2 separate regions of the Homo sapiens genome follow, and region 1 is linked to region 2. The links are contacts of gene promoters, found by promoter capture Hi-C in human tissues and cell types (Jung and others, 2019). All regions are on one chromosome and are shown on one strand. Each heading gives the region's core, a stretch centred on a gene start or on the middle of the fragment in contact. The rest is flanking DNA. Distances are from core to core; before and after follow the strand shown.

Evidence for each region. Contacts are between HindIII fragments. The study calls those that stand out against the background at their distance.
Region 1: a fragment that was not itself captured here is called in contact with the fragment with the promoter of ANKAR in region 2 in 1 of the 25 tissues and cell types used here (IMR-90 fibroblasts).

Annotation. Positions count from the first base shown.
Region 1 is chr2:189,944,598-189,949,270 of GRCh38, reverse strand. It overlaps a transcript of AKAP19 not described here. Among named protein-coding and RNA genes, the nearest start is that of MSTN, 120 kb to the left of the region's middle. The HindIII fragment of the contact is 4,576 bases long and covers 1-4,261 here.
Region 2 is chr2:189,672,187-189,676,957 of GRCh38, reverse strand. It overlaps ANKAR (ankyrin and armadillo repeat containing), which reads right to left and starts at 2,288. Exons shown (of 23, transcript NM_001378068.1): 1 at 2,128-2,288; 2 at 1-502. The coding sequence starts at 467. LOC105373793 (a long non-coding RNA gene) reads left to right here and starts at 2,673. Exons shown (of 2, transcript XR_923692.3): 1 at 2,673-3,127; 2 at 3,565-3,838. RefSeq lists an enhancer at 1,903-2,162 and a silencer at 2,213-2,632. The HindIII fragment of the contact is 7,879 bases long and covers 740-4,771 here.

The DNA of each region.
Region 1 (4,673 bases), core at 724-3,223, 270 kb before region 2:
TTTTTCTCAATAAAAACAGTCAGCACTCCACATCTACGGGTTCTGCATCTGCAACTGAAGGCAGATGGAAAATGAGGTATTTGTCTGATGTGAAACCCGCAGATACTGAGGGCCGGCTTTTTGTATACTTGGTTTTCACAGGATTGTGGGACTTGAGTATGCAAAGATTTTGCTGTCTGCTGGGAGGTGGGGGATGCCCTGGAACCAATCCTCATTGTGAATACTGAGGGACAACTGTATTTTCCTACTTCCTAGATTAGGCCTTCAAAGTACTTTAAGCGTTTAGCAAAGGATTAAGAGTTAAATGTAAAATAAAACCACATAAGAACTAGAAAAACAAAACAAAAATCACAAAAGAACTTAAAAAAAAAAGTTTAAATACCTACATAATCTTGAGGTGAAAGGTCTTTCTAAGCTGAATACCAAAACATATAAATAAGAAAAAAAAATGATTTTACTAAATAAAAATTGAAAATTTGTATGACAGGAAAAAAGTACCACAAATAAGTGTCACAGGACTTTGTTATGTATACGCTATATATATGTTGACATGTTATGTATGTCTGACATAAAAGAACACTTAAAAATAAGCTAAAAAATTAAGACCCTAATAGAAAAAGTCATAAGGCAATTGATAAAGTGGCGCTATAAGTTTAATGTAGTAACATAGACAGACATGGTCCTACCATGTTTATGGGGGTGGATGTACATACATTGTTAAAAAATAGAGCCTAGAAGAGACAGACTGAAATGTTCACAGTGGGTAATGCAGGGGAGCAAAACTGTGGGTAATTTTTATTTTGTTCTCCAAATTGCCTGAAGTTTTTCAGGGAGGTACACGTTACTGTACTAAGGAAAAAACTATTTTTTAAAAAGCTAAGTGTAAAAATTAAATGCAAAAAAAACAGGCATATGTCCTCTAAGCTAAACAGAGACAAAGAAAATTATTCTTCTCATCTGAATCTCATTTTCAGAATCTGTAACAAGGCTTGGTAAAAATGATTTTTAATATTTGTGAATTAATTTTTTGACCCTCTAAGAAGTTAAAATGAATTAATTTCTTTCTTATTAACTTTCAGAATACCATTTGCTAGTACATGAAGAATGCTATACATTTTTAATTCTCCCAACATATAGAAATTAAGTCAACATTAATAAAGTAATTAGTACACTGCCTACAATGTACTTACCGCTGTGATAAGTCTCACAGGAGGTAAACAAATGTACTTATTATACGTTAAATATTTCATGATTCAAATTTTCCACCAAGTTAGACTGGCATAGCCCAACACTGATGATGAATTTGGTAAAGCTGTTTGTCAAGAATCTTAGTAACATAAACCTATTGCTTCAAATTTCCATGTAACAAAAAGATAATATTATTGGTCTGCCATCAACAAAGTATGTGCTTTTGAATAATAGGTTTATTCTTCACATAGATTTGAAAACTCTGGTTAGAATCGGAAATCACTAAAAGTCAGCTAGAGTGGTTAGAATTAGAAATCACCAAGAGTAATCTATATGGGTTACAGATTTAACCCATATAAGGTTAATCCATACATAATCCATATAGGGTTAAATATATTATTATCACTTAATAATGATGATGATATACAACTTTTTTTGAGTGTTTATGTTCCATGTACCATGCTAAATAATTATTATCATCATTTAATTGCCGAGGAAATTTAAGCTTAGAGATTATGCAGCTAGCCCAAGATCACATCCAGTATTGGGATTCAAACCTGCATCTTTCTGGTGACAAAGTGTCATTATTGCCTTTTCATTAAATATTTTATAAATTTAGTTACTAGTGCTAGAATAAATGGAAATAATTTAAGCACTAGTGAAATAGTTTAAAATTGTATACTTATAAAAATGATTTGACTACCTAATAATCCATGTATGAAAACTATTCAGTGCCAACGATGTGAAAAAATATAAAATAGCCATATATCAAGCCAAAGAAATGGGTGGGTTATTTCCATTCTTTTATGTGCAAATGGAATAGGATGGAAATTAAGAGAGCAAACTGATCTTCTTTCTGTTACTAGTTCTTCATATGGGCTAAAACGAAAACCCAATTGTTGGGTCTAATAGTGCACTGTTAAATTTGCTAACTTTTAGGAATAAAAGAAAAATTTATCAGTGCTAGGCACTTTTGTGTTTGCTCACTTAATCCTTAATGAACAATTTCATAAGACAGATATTTTCACTCCATTTTGAAAAAAGAAAGAAATGAAACTGAGGCTTAGAAAGTTTGAACAACTTATATATGGCCGATAAGTGACAAAGCTGAGATTTGAATCTAGGTCTAAATGATCCCAAAGCTGCACTAAGCATAGGCTAATGTCAGTGTAGGAAAGCACAATTTGAAAATAATGAGCTAAATTTTAAAATAATTTTTATGTGTACTGATCACTGATTACTACTCTTATGTAACTATATATCAGGGAAAGCTAGCTTTCTGGTATGAAATGCAAAACCAAAGAATAAAAGCATTTGAAAAAGTATAAAAACATTTGTTTTAAAATCTTTATTTGAAGATTTAAGAAAGAAATATATTCCTATGACACATGTACCTATTTACTGTGACTAAAAATCTAGTAATCTAAGAGATAACTTCAGATAATTTCAGAATTTGGGGACTAAAAATGTTTTAATGGCTAAAAGGAGAAACAGGAAGTTCAAGTGTCTAAAAATCATATTATTTTTCTTTTTTTGGTACTACAATGTTCCAATGCTACTTTCAGGTCGTTAAACTCTTAAATATACTTGTTTTTAAAACTAGGGTCATAGGAAAGCACTAAACTTTAAGAAAAAAATTTCTAGAGGCAGGGCCTATGTTGCTCAGGCTCATATTGAACTTCTGGCCTCAAGTAATCCTCCCACCTCAGCCACCCAAGCCATTGGGATTATAGGCATGAGCCTGCTCCCAGCTTTAAACTTCTATCTTTGAAGTTTCATAGTACCTAAGAGATAGATTCATATAAGATCAGAAACAAAAGTATCTTTTAACGCTGTATTTATGCTATTTTACGCTATATATTATAATCCCCTAATCCTTTAGGGTTCTAATTCATACAATCAAGGATTCTGAAGTTAAGACCACCTAGTCTAATAACTTCACTTTTATAAAGGAAGAAATTTATAAAGTATCCTGGGAAGTTTGAGTAATTTCTCCATGATAGTTTTGTGAATTTGTGCTGGAGTGGAGACTGAACCCTAGCTTCCTTGATATAAAGTCCAAAACTTGTTACATTATACCATCATACTTTCTTCATTTATCTCCATTTTTGAAAGTGTCAAGTAGCAACTATAGTATGTTTAAACCCTGAGTTCTCAAGCAAACAGTTCAGAAGTCCCCACTCTTCTACTGGAGAAATTAGTCCAGACATATATGTAGAGCAATGACTACTTAATATTAACTTAAATGTACACTGGCCAGGTAGGTATAACTTCAGAATAAATAGTCTCCTGATGAAAGAGGTGCAGATTATTAGTTGCCATAACTATAACATAACATAAAGGACCCCTGGAAGTACTTAAAACAATGATAATAACATATTTGAATGCCAATCTATAATTTACAATGTAATTTCACATATTTTCTTCACTCATGGTCTCAATCAAGCTTTTAAAAAATTCATTCTATTGAGGTATAATTTTAAAACAAGAAACTAAAGTACATCCATTTAAAGCAAATAGTTTGAAGAGTTTTTTAGTCTTTGGCTTTATAATCAGTTTTTGTGAATAGGAATTCAGGAATGACTTAGTTGGGTGACTCTGGCTTCAAGTTTCTTATGAAGTTGTAATTAAGCTGTCAGCCAGGGTCTAAAGTCATCTGAAGGCTTGAATGAGGCAGTGGGGTTTGCATCTAAGATGGCTCACTCACCTGGCTCTTGGCAGAAGGCACCAATTCTCTGCTGGCTATTGGCCTTTAGTTTCTAGCCACATAGACCTCTCCATAAGGCTGCTTCTGAACTGTTTTGTTTTGTTTTGGTCTCAGTTACATTTATTTCTGCTCTGATCTCTATTATTTCTTTCTTTCTACTAGTTCTGAGTTTAGTTTGTTCTTGCTTTTCTAGTTCCATGAGGTGCATTGTTGGTTTGTTGATTTGAAGTCTTTCTACATTTTTGATATAGGATCTTATTGTTATAAACTTCCCTCTTAGTACTACTTTTGCCGTATCCCATAGATTTTGGTATGTTATGTTTCCATTTTCATTTATTTCAAGAAATTTTTTAATTTCCTTAATTTCTTCATTGACCATTTGGTCATTTAGGAGCATATTGTTTAATTTCCATGTGTTTTCATACTTTCTAACATTCATTTTTTTACTGATTTCTAGTTTTATTCCATGGTGGTCAGAAAAGATACTTGATATGATTTCAATATTTTTGAATTTGTTGAGATTGTTTTATGGCCTAAGATATGGTCCATTCTGGAGAATTTTCCATGTGTTGATGAAAACAATGAGTATTCTGCAGCATTTGGGTGAAATGTCCTGTAAAGGTCAGTTAAGCCAATTTGGTCTAGTGTGTAGTTTAACTTTGATGTTTGTTAATTTTCTATCTGGATGATCTGTTCGTTAATGATAGTGGGGTGTTAAAGTCCCCTATTATTGTTGTATTGCAATTTATCTTTCTCTTTAGATCTATTAATGTTTCCT
Region 2 (4,771 bases), core at 1,039-3,538:
GCTTTCAGCATGTAGTCAATATTGATCAGAATTTGCCCAATTCTGGTATCATAATAAGCTGGAGGTAATTGACAAGAAGAACTCTGATCATAATTAGCTTCTAAACTGATGGAAGGGATTTGATTTAGGCAATAAATTCCAATAGCCAACTCTCTTATCATTTGATGGACCTCTCTATAGTCTAAGAGGGCAGTAGGGTCCACGGGAGTCAGTAGGATTGCAGTGGAGAAGCCTACGTTATTCATTTGACTCATAATTCCACATGGGAGGTCTACTTGAGAGCGCACATCCTCTTTGGCAGACAACCAGCTAACTAGTGCAGTAGTTAGTAACTCTTGTATTTCACTCCGATCATATTTTTCAAAAAAAGCAGATGCATTTCTTTGTATTGCTAAATTTTCCAGGTAGGTGTCTTCATCCTGAACTTGCTCAAATCTAGGTAATCCTTTTTTGGGCAATCTTAACATTTCTAATTAAATCTAGTGTGTCCTTTTTGAAGCTTCTGCAATGAATAAGAAGGAAAAGATTATCAATAAAATCTGACATGCCAATGAAACTGGATTTGTCTAGAAATAAATCTGTACCTTTCACCTACATAAGATTAATTTTTCATGGTCAACCATTATAGTTTTCAAATTAAAAATAACTGCAGTATATGAAAACTGAAATTTGAATTAAAATAATTAAAATTATAAAACCTTTATCATTAACCATGTTCTGCTTTTCAAAGAATTCAAAAGACAAGAAGATGTATGTCAAAAAGAAACGTTAAGTTTATCTGTGAGAAGCTACTGTTACATACCTATTTTGTTGTTGGAGAGGCATTCTTTTGTATATGTTCGTGTTAGTCTGTTTGTGTTGCTATAAAGGAATACCTGAGACTGCATAATTTATAAAGAAAAGAGGTTTATTTGGCTCACAATTCTGCAGGCTGTACAAGCATGGCACCAGCATCTGCTCAGCTTCTTGTGAGACCAAGCTTACAATCATGGCGGAAGGGGAAGGGGAGCCAGTGTGTCACATGGTAAGAGACGGAACAATAGAGAGAAAGGGGAGGTGTCTACTCTTAAACAACCAGATCTTTCATGAGCTCAGAGGTAGAGTTCACTCTGCCAGGAAAGCACCAAGCCATTCATGAGGGATCCACCCCCATAATCCAAACACCTCGCACCAAGCCCTACCTCCAACATTGGGGAATCTATTTTAACATGAGATTTGGAGGGGATAAATATCCAAATCATATGGATATTTATTTTGTTTTCAGTTTTTTAAAGCAAGACTATACTGACCTGCATGAAAGAAAAGAAAAGGGTGGGGCGCAGTGGCTCATGCGTGTAATCCCAGCACTTTGGGAGGCCAAGTCGGGCAGATCAACTGATGTCAGGAGTTCGAGAACAGCCTGACAAACATGGAGAAACTCCGTCTCTACTAAAAATACAAAATTAGCCAAACGTGGTCGTACATGCCTGTAATCTCAGCTACTCGCGGGGCTTGAGACAGGAGGCTGAACCCAGGAGGCGGAGGTTGCGGTGGCCTGGGCAACAAGTGTGAAAAACACTGTTTCAAAAAAAGAAAAAAAAAAGAAAAAGAAAAGGAAAGAAGCATTTGCTTAACCTTCAATTTCTGTGCCAATGAATGCCTGTCTATTCCTGAAATAATAATAACCACAACTACTATTTATTGAGCCAGGTTCTTTACTATATAATGGTTTGATTTATTTCATCTGATTGGTCTCTATTATATAGTGGTTCTCAAAATTTAGCTTGTATCAAAATCACCTGGGGCTTGTTCAAATACAAATCGCTGAATCCCACCACTGAGTTTCTGATTCAATGAGCTGTAGTGGGGCCAGAAAATATGCGTTTTAGTAAAGTTACAGGAAATGCTGATAGTGCTGGTTTGGGCGCCACACCTGAGACCCCAGGTCAGTGAGTCAGACCTTGTTATGCCCACTTTATAGAGGCAAAAACGGAGACCAGGAGGTTGCAGGACAAGTCTGAGGTTTTACGCCTTTCAGAAACAGAACCCACGTCTGTCCAGTCAAGCCCGGGACCCACGTCCAAAAGCAGCTCGCGTCAGCCATGGGCACGGGAAAGGGGAAAAAACAAGGAAAGGGGAGGAACCTACTCTAGAATGGCTGTTTTCTTGTCCGGGAGAGGGACGCTGCGTCCGCGGCGTTCCCGTGGGGCTGAGAACAGTCGTCGCCGCCTCAGATGGCTTCTCGCGGGGCCTTGAATCCGCCCTCAGGGCCTCCGCAAGGGCGAGCGGGAGGCGCACCGGAAGGAACTGAGAGGAACTTTCAGGGCTTTTCGCCCCACCGTGGCGGCCCGGCCCTCCTCGCCTCGCCGGCCAACACTGCCGCCGCCCGGGCGCGGGTCGAAGCGGTTGGTCCTCCGGGCCCTGGGGTGGCTGGGCTGCTCCTCGGGCGGAGCCTGCGGGCGACTAGGCCTGGTGCGTCCCGCAGCAGCCGCAGCGCCCCCAGGCGGCGCCCGGCCCCTTGGCTGGCTCAGACCCCCCGCGTGCGCATCATCCCAAGCCCGCTTAGCGCTTAGTCCAGCGGCATGCCGTGGGCACTGTGCCGCCCTCACTATCTGCCTCTGCTAAAACACCGAAACAGAGTAGCAGAGGAGACAGCGCCGGGCGTTGAGGCAGTCCCGAGTTGGAATACCACCTCCATCATCATTCTTTCATTCAACAAGCATTTATGGAACACCTATTATGAGTCAGGCACCCAGCTACAAGCTGGAAACCCTAGAAAACAGGGCAGACACGAAACCCCAAGGAGCTTACAGTTGAACAGATCATCTCACAGCTATATTTAACAGTGTGCCAATATTAGATGGAATGACAGCACTCGAATGAAAGCTAACCTAGCCCAGGGCTAGGAAAGGCTGCCTAAGGAAGTGCCCTTTTCCCCTCCGAGCCTAGAAGATGGAAAAGAGCTACCCAAGCAAAGGACTGGACAAGTAGCTTTTCAGGAACAGGGAACAGCAGGAGAGAAAGAATTGAAGTGAGAACAAAGTTGAAATGGTTGAGAAACCGCAAAACCCTGCTTAGAGAACAAGAGAGATGTGGGCACAAACCGAGCTGCTGAGGTGCGCGATGGACAGATCATGCAGGCTGCTGAGTAATGATTTTGAATTTCATCCCAAAGGATTAGCCTACAGTAGTGGCAGTGGAGGTGGGGCTCAGGGACTGTGGACAGATTTGAAAAATAATGAGGTTGCCTGTTGGTGACAGATTGGGGATATGTTGAAAAAGAAGGTTGTGTCCAAGTCAGAACCACATTTCTGTCAGGAGCAACAGGATATCAGGGCAAGATTAAGAGTTCAGTTATGTACTAATTGACCTTGAAGTACCTGTGAGAGAAATTGAGATGTGAGATATGCTTTAGATAAACAGTTCTGGGCTAAGAATGGCAGTAGGGGTTAGATGTATAAATTTTGGCAGATTTATAGTAATTGAAGCCAGGAGTGGGGTTGAAATCACCAAGGGAGAGCGTGCAGAATGAGGAGTTGAGAACCAAGGATTAGAGACCTGAGAAATTTAACATTTAAACGTCAGGTAGAGAGAGTGAAGTCAGCAAAGAAGACAAAAAGAACAGCCAAGAAGGCAGGAGGAAAACCAAAATTGGTCACAGAAGCCAAAGAAGTGTGTGGAAAAAAAAAAAGGAATGGCCAACTTTATCGGATGCTGCTGCTCGGTCAGGGGAGATGAGAACAAACTTCCACTGAATGCAGCAGCTTGGAAGTTCTTGGTGACTGTTTGGGGCAGAATTTCTCTTCCAGTAACCATGTCATTATTTTAGCTACTATGGAAATAAATATTAATAAATTTATGAGGACTATTCCAGGGCTTTTTTTTTTACAAAGATTTGCATGTTTGCACTTAAGAAATATGAACCATATATGTACATTCTCCTACTTCAAGGATTGTTTCCCCCTGGGTAGCCAAATGGTTTGTTCCATGTGTCTCAAATCTTCGGAAAGAGATGCCTCATTTTTTAAAGGATCAACACAGAACTCCATCCCAGAGCTAATGGGATTGAATAGCAGAAGGTTGTAAATGCCCAGGCCCTCTTGGGGTTCACACACATGCATGTGTATCCTCTCTCTGTCTCTCTCAGTATTCTGGTGGAGCAGATGACCTGGAAATTCCTTATAAAAGTTTGACTGATTAATACATTTAAATCTCATAGAGTAGAGTAGCACCTGGAATATAGCATTATGTAAGTTATAGCTATTTTCAGTATTAAACTGTATTGGTGTTATAATATTCAATTCTAGGCCGTGGGGCAAACCTCTTAAGTTCATCTACTCCCAATATAAGCAATGTCAATTTAGTGCTCAGGCCCACACAGACACTTGAAGTTGTCTGCTTTCAGATTGAGGGATGAAAGCTATGTAGGCAGTATCTAAATTTTGGTTGAACATTGCATCTTCCAGGGAATAAATTCGGGGCATGTGAAAGCCTTTGCCAGGTTACTGACCTGTTTGTCCGGATCCTAAAATTTATTTGCTACTGTGATTAAAGAATCAAAGGGTGGCCAGATCCAGAAATGGTGTCGATCCTAATGGACAGATTTCACAGTGACACTGGTATGGCAGTTAACAGTTGAGTAATGTGGGTGGATGTCAGGTTGGAGTAAATAGACAAAAAGGTGGAGAGAGTGACTGTGGATGAGAGGCAAGACATAGTAAGTAGAGGAAGACGTAATTATTCTTGTCTTCAGGTTGAGTAGGCTGAGGAGGAGAAGGGGCTGTCTCGGGGT